Linked DNA regions of Homo sapiens: all the other regions are linked to region 1. Evidence: promoter capture Hi-C in 16 types of primary human blood cells and fetal thymus (Javierre and others, 2016). All regions are on one chromosome and are shown on one strand. Each heading gives the region's core, a stretch centred on a gene start or on the middle of the fragment in contact. The rest is flanking DNA. Distances are from core to core; before and after follow the strand shown. Region 1 holds the start of PARD3B (par-3 family cell polarity regulator beta). Region 2 has its middle 19 kb from the start of NRP2. Region 3 overlaps NRP2 (neuropilin 2).

Region 1 (4,188 bases), core at 1,062-3,561:
CTTGTAGTTTATCTCTTACTTGGATAGCCCCCTGTACTAAACTTCTAAATATACAAGATTTGAGGGCATAAATTATTTAATAGTTAAAAAGTAACTTCAATTTGGTAAGACAATCCCTCAATGAGATCTATTTCAATAATCTGTCTGGAGTAATGTTGTTACTATTAATCTTAGCTCACTTTCAAAAGTTAGTGAAATATGATTTAATAGACAATTGGTTACTTGTTTAAACATCAGTTAACTGAATTACATGATTTAAACAGCAAACACTATTTTAACAATGGCAAACACATATGCACGTGCACACACACACATAACATTGCAGTTGATTTTCACACAGCTTTATAAACCACTTTAATTTTTTCCCTCCTCCACCTCAATTCCATCAGTAAAGAGTTCATCTTTAGGGGTTATATTTAATATATTAATAGACCTTTCATTGTACTCTCCTCCAGTTCTTGAGTATCCAAAGCAATATGCACATGTATCTGTCCAGAGCTGAATTTTTTTTCTGTATAATAATTCTTCATGGAGGCAAAGAAGGTGCAAGTATTTTCTTAAACCCCTAAGCTATACACTTGTAAGAAACAATTACTTTTATGCTTTGGATAACCGATAAGAAGTTAAAAGAAATTAAAACTTACGTTTTTCCATCACTAGATTGACCAACCCACTATTTTAGTCACATGGCACGAGACCAAATATTAAGAGAACCATTGGCCGCTAAAACAAGAATTTGTGACTTGCCCTGTTTGAGGAGCATTTGGGACATACAAAATGTTCCATGTGAAGATTCAAAAAATTAAAAGGTTATTCAATGCCTTCCTTTAAAAGTTTCACTGAGGAAGTCCCAGAGGCCCAATGTTACCCAAATACTTGGCATAAGTTCTAGTGCCAGATATTTTCTCAACATGTATTGCACACTTAAAAAAAATTGTCACTTAATTTATACTTGTTCCTGACTTCAGCTACAGAGCTAGGAACGTCTTTCTCATTTTAATAGTCACTCAGGACCTGACAACAGCCCACACACATAGTAAATGGTCATAGAATCTGTGACATTAAACTGAAAACACTCAAAATGTAGACAGGTTGGCTAAGCAAACAGCATGCTCCCACCTGTGTTCCTGCCCAAGTCACTGAGACAGGGCAGCTCACAAGGCTGAAACTCCAAAGGCCCCATCAGTTGTAACTTCCGAGTATGTGTCACTTGCACAATCAACTTTCTAACTCCAAGGAGCCTAAGTGAGGCGGGCCTTAATGGGTCAAAAATCACACTTAGGTGAGCAGCACCTTTTAAGACGTTCCCTCAAACAAGTTCTAAACCAGTGGTTCTCAAACTTCAGTGGGCATTCCAATCACCTGGGGATCTCGTTAAAGAGCAGATCCTGAGTCGGTGGGTTTGGAGAACTGCCCATATTGGGCAGTTCTAAGAAGCTCCCAAGAGATTCCAATGCTGCAGGTCCACTCACGACCCTCGGAGCTCAAGGCCCACAAACACCCAAAGACACCCACATCACTGATATTAGCAATAGACAACAGCTGCAGCTACAGGCAGTGCCCCATAATCCCCTGGGTTTTCTGCATCCCCTGAGTGTCGCCACCGGGTCGCACCTGGCAGGTGCCTTGGCTGCAGCCGCGCCCCACTCCTCCGCGCCGCGCTCACCTTCTCCCGGGTCTTCAGGTACCGCTGCAGCGCCTGCTGGGTGAGCTCGCCGACGCGCAGCTGGCCCTCCTTGCAGGGCACCACGATGCCCGTCCTGCCGAAGCACACGGTCACTTTCATCCTGGCCCCCGGCGACCACGCCGGGCCGGGCCGAACAGGTGTCTGACCCCGCGGGCGCAGCCCCCACTCTCGGAGGACGCCCGGGGCGGGTGGGCCCAGAGACCCGGGGCGCCGCTCCCCGGAACACCCTGAGGCCCGGAGGCTCGCGGCAGCGCCCCTTCCACCTGGCCAGGCGGCAGGTGGCGGGAATCGGGGAGGGGCGGCCGCGGAAAGGGGTTACCTCCCAGGTGCCCGGCGGCCCGGGACGCGGCAGCTCCGCGGCACCGGCTCCTCCTCCTCCTCCTCCCGCTCCTACTCCTGCCCGGCCCAGGCGGCTGCTCCGCGCCCACCAAAGCGAAACTGCCGGCCCTGCCCTGTCGCTGGTCCTGGCCCTGGCCCTGGCCCTGGCGGCGTTGGCAGGGCCGGCCCCAAGCCGGGGGCTGGAGTGGGCGGCGGCGGCGGCGGCGCACGGGGCCAGAGTTGGGAGGAAACTTTTGCGCCGGCTCCCAACTCCTCTGCGGCGCCCGCGCTCTGGGCTCCTGCGGTCCCGGCGACGGCCTGGGCCCGGCTCTTAAAGGGGCCGCGGCGCTCCCGGGCCCCGCCGCACGCTGGGCGACGACGTGCCCCGGCCCTGCGGGCCAGTAACTGGAGCCCGGGAGCCTCGTCTCGTCACCTGGGTCTCTCCCTGGCTCTCTCCCTCTCGCACGCATGCACACGGAGCTCTGGGGAGTTGTAAGGGGACCTGAGGGCTACACGCTCGAGGATTGAAACCGGATCTCAGAAAGAACACCCGAGGGAAGAGCGAGGAGACTGCAGAGCTGCGCCCTTCACAGGAGGGGACTGCAGCAAGATGCAAAAGGAGCCCAGGAGCAGGTGCTTCTAGTCACGCCCACCAAAAACACCCAAGGGGCGAGGCTGCCGGGTGCGGAGATGCAGGAGTGCCCCGAGGGCCTGTTAGGAACTCGCCTTAAGCACAGCCCGTGCCGCTGCCATCAGGAGCCCTGGGATAGCAGAGCTGAAGCGAACCTTGGAGAGAACGCGCCAGTGGAAACTTTTCCTTTTACAGACCCTCGAGGACACTGAGTATTTGGCCAAAGGTCACACCCAAGACCCAGATATGATCGCGTGTGTTGACACATAGCCTTCTGGAATGCGACTACCGTTGTGCATTTTATTAGGAAAAAAAAAAGTTAACACCCTTAGGCTCATGATTTGGCAGGTGTGTATCCATCACCAATTGAAATGGGAATATGTGGGGGAAACCAACAAATTACGTTAGTTTCATTCTTAGCTCTCATGTAAATGAGCTCCTTTGAGCTTAACAACTACCCGGTAGGTAGATATTATTCTTCGCATCTTGTGCATCAAGAATGGTGCTCGGAGAGGTCAAGAGACTGAGCAGACCATGGTGTTAGTTCTGTTGAAAAGAACTCAGGTCTTCTGAGCTCAATCTCTGGTCTCTCCCTGCAGTTTTCTTAGCCATCCAGTTCATCCAGCAAGACCCTCAGGGCTGCATCATGTGTTTCTCTACAGAAGGATGTGCTCCTATGTGGACACACTTAAATTGAACGTGAATTGCCTAGGATGGTATGATAATGCAGAGGAGATTAAATTCATGGGTTTCAAGAGGTTTTTTAAAAAAATAAATTTTAGCTCATTCATACATTCAGTAAGTATATATTGGTTGTCTTCTATGTATAGAAAGTCAGTGGCAAACCAAGAGGATCACGTAAACCAAGTCCATTGTAATTTGGTTGTAAATCCAATACAAACTAATTTACATTTAAATAAACCAAAGACAGAATTGATCACCTCATAAAATCAGAAGATCCAGAGGGCACTCCATTGAGGCAAGGTTGAAAGCAGGAACTCAAACTATGTCCTCAGGGGCCAGCTAGCTCTGTCCAGCTCTTAGCTCTATCTGTTCCTCAGTGTGGTCTCCATTCTCAGGCCAGCTCTCTTCAAAGGAGACACTTTATCCTCTTTTTAGAGATGAGGAGCTGAGGCCAAAGGAAGTTAAATGATTTAGTTAAAATCTCATTCTTAGAAAGTAGCAGAGGCTGGCTTAAAACCCAGGTCATCTGATTCCAGAGTCTTCATCGTAACTGCTGTGCTGTTTCTTACATGAGAAGTACCAATGAGTGAATCAAACAAACAAATAGATACTGATGCCGTGCATTAATGTGTGGCCCTCACTTTTAATATTCGGTATTTCATGGACCTATAGAATGGTACAGAGCAAAGATTTTCCACTGATGAAATAACTTTGCATGTTGCCATCCTTCCTGCATCGTGGCTTTTTGCTTTACAGTTGCTCCAGACTCATTTTCTTCTGCTTGGGTCATGAATAGCTCCTCCTCTTCGCCACAAATTCCCTCTTAGCCCAGCTTTAGCTCCTTCCCAATATCTAGAACCTCCCACCC
Region 2 (4,263 bases), core at 1,511-4,010, 1.1 Mb before region 1:
AGGCACCGGGGCGGGAATGCAAACATCATGAGGGTCAAAGGTCATAACCTTTCTGGGTGGAAACCAAGACAACTGCATACCTAAATGGCACTAGGGTCTTGAACTGGGCCAGTGGTAAGGTCCCCTCTTGCCAGAATATTCTGTGAGTCATAGGCTTGGGGGAGAGGAGCTCCTTGTCTGATCCATCAGAGGAGACTGGGTGGGGTATGCAGTGTTCAAACTGGAGTTCTTTATGTAACTATAGAAAGCTTGCACTGTTTGGCCAGACGCAGTGGCTCACGCCTGTAATCCCAGCACTTTGGGAGGCCGAGGCAGGCAGATCACCCGAGGTCAGGAGTTCCAGATCAGCCTGATCAACATGGAGAAAGACCGTCTGTATGAAAAATACAGAAAAATTGCCAGGCATGGTGGCGCATGCCTGTAATCCCAGCTACTTGGGAGGCTGAAGCAAGAGAATTGCTTGAACCCGGGAGGCAGAGGTTGAGGTGAGCCGAAGTCACACCATTGCACTCCAGCATGGGCAACAAGAGTGAAACTCCATCTCAAAAAAAAAAAAGAGAAAGTTTGCACTGTTCACAATAGCAAAGACGTGGAATCAACCTACATGCTGGGATAAAGAAAATTTGGTACATATACACCATGGAATACTACACAGCCATAAAAAAGAGTGAGGTCATGTACCCTGCAGCAACATAGATGGAGCTGGAGGCCATTATCCTAAGTGAATTAATGCAGGAACAGAAAACCAAATACCACATATTCTCACTTTTCAGTGGGAACTAACTATTGAAAACACAGGTACACAAAGAAGGGAATGATGTACCCTGGGGCCTGCTTGAGGGTGGAGGGAGGGAAGAGAAAGAGGATAAAAAAAAACTACGTATCAAGTACTATGCTTATTACTTGGGTGGCAAAATAATCTGTACACCAAACCCCCGTGGCACACAATTTACCTATGTAACAAACCTGCACATGTACTCCTGAACCTAAAATAAAAGTTAAAAAAAAAAAAAAAAAAAAGACAAGACAGTTTGGTAAAGGGAACCATGAAGGTCCTGGTGCATAGAAGCATTGTTTTGGGGATGATCTCAAAGTGTCATTGTGTGGCAACAACCCTGAGCTATTTCTCTACATTATATGGGGGCTTAAACAGAATTATGAAATTGTGCACCAACAATAAGGAACAGTGCAATGCCGGGAGAAGCACACTTGGACATAAGATTGAAAATGCTCATCTGTACTGAGCATCTTCTGGGCAGGAGGATGGTCCTGAGAGTTATAAAGAAATAATGGCACTTTTGGAAGAGAGGAGGAAGGTGGTGGTGGTGGTGGTGGTGGTGAGACAGTTCAACAGATGTGGATGATACCCTGCGCAGGGCTCCCATATGACTGAGTGGCAGAAATGAATTTACTTATCCACTGCAGTCCAGGCAAAACAAATAAACAAAAACTGGAACACACACATACACACACACACACACACACACACACACACACAGATAAATCTTAAAAGTGCAACCACTGGGCATGTCTTCCAGAGACAAGTTAATAGGAAAGCAATGCATACATAACCAAAGGTGGTGAAAGAGACAGATAACATCTTAGCATAGGAAGGAACAGATCTGGGTGTGGTGGCTCACACCTGTAATCCCAGCACTTTGGGAGGCCAAGGCGGGCAGATCACCTGAGGTCAGGAGTTCAAGACCAGCTTGGCTAACATGGTAAAACCCCGTTTCTACTAAAAATACAAACAATTAGCTGGGTGTGGTGGTGGTGCATGCCTGTAGTCCCAGCTACTCAGGAGGCCGAGGCAGGAGAATTACTTGAACCAGGGAGGCGGAGGTTGCAGTGAGCTGAGATCACACCATTGCACTCCAGCTTGGGCAACAAGAGTGAAACTCCATCTCAAAGAAAAAAAAAAGAAGGAACAGAAGCTTTGCTAGCAGGGAGAATATGAGTCTCACCTGTAAACTCAGGGAAGTCCATTGGCAGAAGGTAAACTCTTTTAGTGTGAGATGTCTGATTTATGTTAAATATGTGATCATAACTGAAGAAATTCAGAGCGAGAGCAAATGAAAGCAAGCTGCCTCCTGCAGTCAAGACCATGCTATGTCTTGCCATCCTTCCCTCACCATAAGGACTTGAGGCCTCCCCTTACCTCATCCAGCAAGGGAAATGGGAGCAGGCAAGGACATCTGTGTATCACACCTCTAGGCACTAGAGGAGGCTTTGGGAAGGATAACAGCATGGAAAAGAAGGGGAGGTAGGAAATTTGGGAGAGCAGAAAAAAGCGAACCCAGGTGCTATGTGAGTGTGTGTGGATGGTGAGGCAGACAGTGAAGGGGGTGGCATGACGAAGGGACAGGAAAATCTATGGAGGACACTCAGTGCTTCTGGAAGAAACGGCAGTGAGCTGATGCCCCCCACATCTGGACAGTGAAACTCTATGATAGGTTATAATTGGTGTAAACAAGTTAGCTCCTCTATGGGAGTCTTCCCCAAACTATAATGTCATCAACTGAGGTTGATTGCTTTATTGGTCCCAATTCACCTCACTCACTGCAAAAGGATTATACATCTCTCCTTTGCTGGATAGAGTAGTATCTGTCCTTCGCTAAGCTGTAGTGTTCGTCCCCACCCCTTTGACATCAGACAGGGCCATATATGATGTGCTTTGGCCACTAGAACGTAACAGTGACATACGCCACTGTGAACAGATACTAGGAGAGCTATCATGAGGTTTGGACACTGCTCTTTGCCTCTGTCATGACAATGGCATGTACCAGCCAAGGGATCCTTATCAGCCTGGATCCCCAGCAGTTGTGAGGGGGAAAGTTGGGCTGCAGACGGGCCATGCTATAAGTCCCAGTGCCTTTGTGCTGTAAGTCACTGAGGTTTGGGGGTTCCAGCAGCATAGTCTAGTGAATGCAGACTGACACACCAACTTTGCATTATGTGGATGTTCCCTGTGATGCTGGAACAATGCGACAGGTGGCACTTTTCACAGTTCTGAGGGATTGTGTGCCATTGGCAGAAGAAGGTGCCCTTGACCCACACAGAATAGGTAGAGAGAGAGAGAGATCAGAAGTCTCTGGCACTCAGCTGGGCAGCTAAGCTGTCAGCTCAATGTCTCTGCCCACATCCTCCCAACGCTCCCAGGGGAAAGCCAGAATAACCCCTTGTGGATGTAAGAGAAGGACCTAGTGTCTTATTCACAATTATACAGTCTTTAAAGCAGAAATAACCCAGGGAACAGACCCCCAAATGGGAAGTTTGAGGCAGGAAGATTCTGTGGACAAAGTTTGGGAAATTCCACTGAATCAAGTGTGGCTGACAATGAAATGAGCAGTTTTCATCTAGAAGTGAGGAGGTGGCATAAAGCCAGGGTTCAGAGAGCAAAGGCTTCTGCTTTTCCAGGAACCTTAAAAAGGAGAAAAAGCTAGAAATGCCCCAGGTATTGCTACTGAGAGAATAAACTCTCTTTATGCCCTGGTAGTGGGAAATTATCTGGGTAACTGGTGACAGAGTCTTTCCAGATGGAATAGAACTTTTCTTCTTCACCTACTGGGAAACTCACCAAGCTTCAGATCTTAAACTAGGGTGTCTCATGAGCCACATGATGAGAAAAGTTTTGTGCAGTTTCTTATGATCTGTTATAGAGCCAAGGTAGAAAGACCACTGCATTTCACTGGACAGGCTATGGTGGAAGCTGTACTGGGTGGGAGGTAGCCCAGATGACCTATCAGACTCTTTCAGCTCCAATAGATTAATATTTATTATTTAATGCTACGGCTCATGACATTAAAATGTCAAAATTGACTTAATTAGGGCAAACAAGTAGAATTAAATCTGAAATGCAAGTAAAGATGAAACAAGTAGAATTGAATCTGAAATGCAAGTAAAGATGAAACAAGTAGAATTGAATCTGAAATGCAAATACACCATCTTATCTCGTTTATTCCTTTAAGCCACATCAAATCATTTATAGGAATAAAGTGGGGTATAAATAAGTGAATGAAAGAATAAAATGTTATGTTGCAGCCTAAAGCCATATTCAAACTAATACGAGTGAGCAGTAGCAAGTTTTGTGAGGTGCAAGAACATGGAAATAGAACCTTTGCTCATGGAGAAAATTCTAAGTCTTGGGTGGCGGAGGGAAAGGACTGACAGTGTGTATTAGGTTCATGAGTTCCAACGCTTCCACAAAACACTGGAAATGATTCAAAGGGAAAGTGAACCATGAGGTGGTTCCCAGCAGGCACT
Region 3 (4,434 bases), core at 1,719-4,218, 1.2 Mb before region 1:
AAAAGGACAAAACAAAAAGAATATAAATTTTTTTCTATAGGACTCATGACTCCAGGAAAATACACAAATCCCTTTTTAGAAAAATCTGATGTTTTCACTTGGTATATTTCCATCTCTTCTTTATCCCCTCCACACCTGGAGCTCCCACTGAATTTCTTAAGACAGACTCTCAGCCGGTGTAATTAGATGGGAGAATTACATGGAGTTACATGGGGTGAGATGCTGGCCCTCTGGGATCTCTGGGTTCGGAGAAGGTGCCAGGGTGGAGAGGCAGAACAAGTGGGATTGTGCATGATAACATCTCAAGTGATTTTCTCAGTCAGAAGATAAAGCATATTGTTAAGAAGGGCATCTACAGCGAAGCTTGCATTGAGACAGTTACAATTGCAACACTCATTTTTAAAAACAAACTGCCCAAAGTAATTCCAGCTGCGTTTTAACCTTGGTAAGAGGAGAACAGTCTGTGAGTTGTTTTTCCCCCTGATCCATGGGTGAGGTGGAGTTGCTGGGTGGACCCTGTGGTCAAGGTTGGTAAGTGTGGGGCCAGCAGCCAGCTGCTCCCATTCGTCCACCACGTACCTGGAGGTGGATCTGTTTCTGTCATTAGGAGGATTGTTGCAATACAGAAAATTATTACTGCTCACTGGCTCCTTAGGGGAATCAGAATATTTCTGTGGTTGGGCAGGCAGTAAATAATAACGTCAGTAATAGTGTCGTGAGTGATCAAGCCAACGGCCTCTCCTCAACAAGCACAAGGCACCCTCTTGAACCACACAGAATTCTCACTATGCTTTGTTGGCTTTTCAGACTTCAACGGAGACCAGCTGAAGCCACACCTCCAACTGGGCAATCTGGCCTCCCGCCCTCTATTCATAGGAAAGAGACTTGGATTCAGAAAGTCTTGTGTAGCAGGAAATTGACAAGAGGAGCTTAATCTGAAGTGTTACCTGGACTTTCCCAGGCCAAACCCCACTTTCAGGCATTCCACTGGCGGCGGGGTGGGGGAGGTCGCTGGACATAGGGTATGAGGCTGCAGAGACCCTACAATGGACAGGGAAGGTGGGGACAGCAGAGAGTCCCCATCATCTTAGTCTTTCCTGCTTCCTGACCACCCTGTCTCCTAAGGAGATGGTGGAAGTTGTCTGGCCAGGAAATACAATTAAATAGTATTGCTCAGGCACCTCTTCACCGGGAAAAGGGTTTGTGTCAGCAAGTCACAAGGACAGCCCCTTTTAGTCTACCCTTACAATGCTCACTGGTTAAGAAATTGGGTTCAGGCATGTTCAATTATTTTGGTTCCTGAAGGCATCAAACCCTCCCTCCTTCTTGTCTTTGGGCATGCTGCTGTCTGCCTATGACACCAGCCAAACACACTCCCTGCTGCCTGGCCAAATTCTTTAGAATTCGTATAGGCGTCACCTCCTCCAGGGAGCCTTCCTTGATCTTCCCAGCTTAGGCTGGACCTGGATGCTGTGGGCCCACGTAACAGGTCCATATCATGTCCCCTGCCAAATGCATGATGCCGGGGAGGCAGACAGCACAAGAGTAAAGCAGAGATTGAAAACTAGGGTATCTGGCTTCAAAACCCTTCTCTGCCACTTATGGGAGTAGAACCTTGGGCCAGTTGCTTAACTTCTTTGAGCCCAAGTTTCTTCATCTGTAAAATGGAAAGAGTAACAGTGACTTTAGGGAAAAGAATATGATTTATTCATCACTGTATTCCCAATAATACCAACGTGCTTAGCACATAGTAGGTGTTTAATAGCTATTTCCTGATGAATGAATGAATGGTCTATTACCATTTTGTTGGTGAGAGACTCATGTCCCAAATCAGTTAGTGACATTCTTGGCCTGTGTCCTACCCCCTAAGATTATGTCATATTCCCAGAGGGACAAATAGGGAACACAGATCTGTCTGCCTTCCAACACAGATTCAGCTCATGCTGACCTATTGCCTGGCATTTCCAATGTAAAAAATATCACGAAATCACCTGCACACACCTGCCTAGCACCCTCCTAGACTAGGCGCCATGGGAGTTTAGATATGAAGTACATGCTTTGTGCCCTTGTAGAATTTACTTGCTGAGAACTCAAGATGACCACATATGAACAAAAAGCAAGGGACTCAGGCAACATCAAGTGCTCTGGGAGTTCAGAGGAAAGGGTGATAAAAGGGAACTGCAGGAAGCAAGGAAACTCAGGGGAGGAAGATGGGAGCTTGCAGCTGGACACTGTGGAGGGAGGGAAAGGAGGGCTGGAGCCCTGGGAACTCAGGGGGCTCATGCAGATGCAAGACTATGCTTGGTTGTTTGCAGGGAATCGAGGGTGTTTACTGAGCACAGGGAAACACTGCTGGCTGAATGGGGAGGGGCCAGATGACTAAGGTCTGGTCTGATCTCTCTGTTTACTATGATCAGGTTATCAACTGGGAAACTGCTACCTTTCTAAGATATCATCTCTTACTTTGGGAGAAACAGACATATCTTCTAAGATATAGAGGGCCCCTCTGGCTGTAAATAAACACAAGAGCACCTTGTTTATCTAGGACACTTAGAGGCAAATATCCAAAACCTTAAATATGCAGAATATAACGGTGTGGGGGAGTTCAGAAAAAAAGATTGTGAGCAGCTACACTGATGTTGAGAACTCCATCCTCTGTTGCTCTTACGCTTTGTCACTTGGGGATCACTCCCCAGTCCTAACTCTGCTGCAAGCTTGGCTGGCTGAAGCCAACTGGAAATGCTGGCCTTGGGATTGCACTGGCTTGAGCAAAGCTTAGGTCCCAGAACTCAAACTTCCCAAGAGACAGCAAGGGCTCCTGAAGCAAAATTGATAACCCCATAAAAAAGCAAAAACAAGTCAGAATGGGAAGGCTACAGGAGACAGGCATACTCGTAACAGGATGTGTGAAAGCAGGAGGATTGATAGAAAATAGTCCCAAACTGTCCCCTGACAAAGTCCAATGATGCTAACACAGTTGCTAACTTATTGGGCATCTACATAAAAAGGCAGAGCAATCTTGCAAGATATTTATTATTATGACAGCTTTGCAGATGAGGAAACTGAGGCCTGGGAAGTTTAAAAGGTCAATAAAAATTCAAATCTTAATCTGCCTGTTCCAATTATGGCAATACTGGCTGCTGTCACAAAAGTGAAGCTTAGAATTAAAAGCCTGAATCATTGAGAAAAAGTTGACTCCTCTCAATGTAGGTTTTAAAAAGACAGGGAAGTGCAGCACATGATTTAGAATGTTCTTTATCAGAAATCCTTTAAAAAAGAACTCTTGGAACTCTTTAAAGTTCTCTTTTAAGAACTTTAAAGGTGGATATTTCAGTATCTGGACACTTCACCTAAATGGAATGTCATTCTTCAATGATACGTGGTATATGAGATATTGCTGGGCTGAACATAGCACATACAATCATTTATGTAGACTTCCTTGAGGATTTTAGCCTAAGAAATGTTCTTTCATTTCTTGCTAGTGGGTTTTGCTCTTTCTGAGACCCATCAAGGTACCCATCTAGAAATTACCAATTCTTTTTTTTTTTTTTTTGAGACAGAGTCTCACTCTTTCACCCAGGCCGGAGTGCAGTGGCACAATCTCAGCTCACTGCAGCCTCTGCCTCCCAGGTTCAAGTGATTCTCCTGCCTCAGCCTCCAGAGTAGCTGAGATTACAGGCACGCACCACCAAGCTTGGCTAATTTTTTTTGTATTTTTAGTAGAGACGGGGTTTCACCATGTTGACCAGGCTGGTCTCGAACTCCTGACCTCAGGTGACCTGCCTGCCTCGGCCTCCCAAAGGGCTGGAATTACAGGTAGAAATTACCAGTGCTTAAAAGGACCCAGCCTCCTGGTTTTGGTTTTATTTGGTTGAGCCTCTGGGATGGGGTGGGTGCTGGGGCTGTTTGAGAACTCCTGAACAAGCTGTGTATTACATGCAGGTGGGTGTTTTAAAAATACATACATTTTAAATTTTAGAAATGGAAAAAACCACTCAACTTTGTGTATGGGTTTCTAAAACCATAACATTCAGTCTGTTGGCTGATGACTCAAGCGAAAGGCCTCTGTCTGCCGGAGCAGCAACATCCTAGCATCCTCCACTCCACAGGGAATAAAGTGGCTTCTCTCTGTTTGCCCAGACGGCCCGTAGTCTCGCCCTTTTGTCCTTTGGCTGCAGGAGTCCAGCAGTACCACAGTGGCCTCTGGTTTCTGCCCACAGCTTCTATACAGGCCCCCAAACAGCCTGTGGGTGCCCAGGATTTGCATTTCTGCAAGTGGCTGGAGGGAGGAGTCAAGGGAAGTTCACCAGAGATGGTGGCCTTGGATTGCACTGAGTCAGGCAAAGCTGCGGCTTGTGAGTGAAATTTTCCAAGCAGACAGCAAGCTTCAATGGAACAAAGTTAATAAGCAACGGTTAGGGGAAAAGGTCTATC

The links. Contacts are between HindIII fragments. The CHiCAGO score rates a contact against its expected background, and 5 or more counts as called.
Region 2: a contact is called between a fragment that was not itself captured here and the fragment with the promoter of PARD3B in region 1, in 1 of 17 cell types (total CD4 T cells). The highest score is 5.0, in total CD4 T cells.
Region 3: a contact is called between a fragment that was not itself captured here and the fragment with the promoter of PARD3B in region 1, in 2 of 17 cell types (non-activated CD4 T cells and total CD4 T cells). The highest score is 6.9, in non-activated CD4 T cells.

Annotation. Positions count from the first base shown.
Region 1 is chr2:204,543,598-204,547,785 of GRCh38, reverse strand. It overlaps PARD3B (par-3 family cell polarity regulator beta), which reads right to left and starts at 2,311. Exons shown (of 23, transcript NM_001302769.2): 1 at 1,667-2,311. The coding sequence starts at 1,786. RefSeq lists a silencer at 2,275-2,324. The HindIII fragment of the contact is 7,233 bases long and covers 3-4,188 here.
Region 2 is chr2:205,661,467-205,665,729 of GRCh38, reverse strand. No RefSeq gene overlaps it. Among named protein-coding and RNA genes, the nearest start is that of NRP2, 19 kb to the left of the region's middle. The HindIII fragment of the contact is 1,647 bases long and covers 1,937-3,583 here.
Region 3 is chr2:205,700,658-205,705,091 of GRCh38, reverse strand. The region is part of intron 2 of NRP2 (neuropilin 2); the gene reads right to left. Among named protein-coding and RNA genes, the nearest start is that of NRP2, 20 kb to the right of the region's middle. RefSeq lists an enhancer at 4,344-4,434. The HindIII fragment of the contact is 383 bases long and covers 2,777-3,159 here.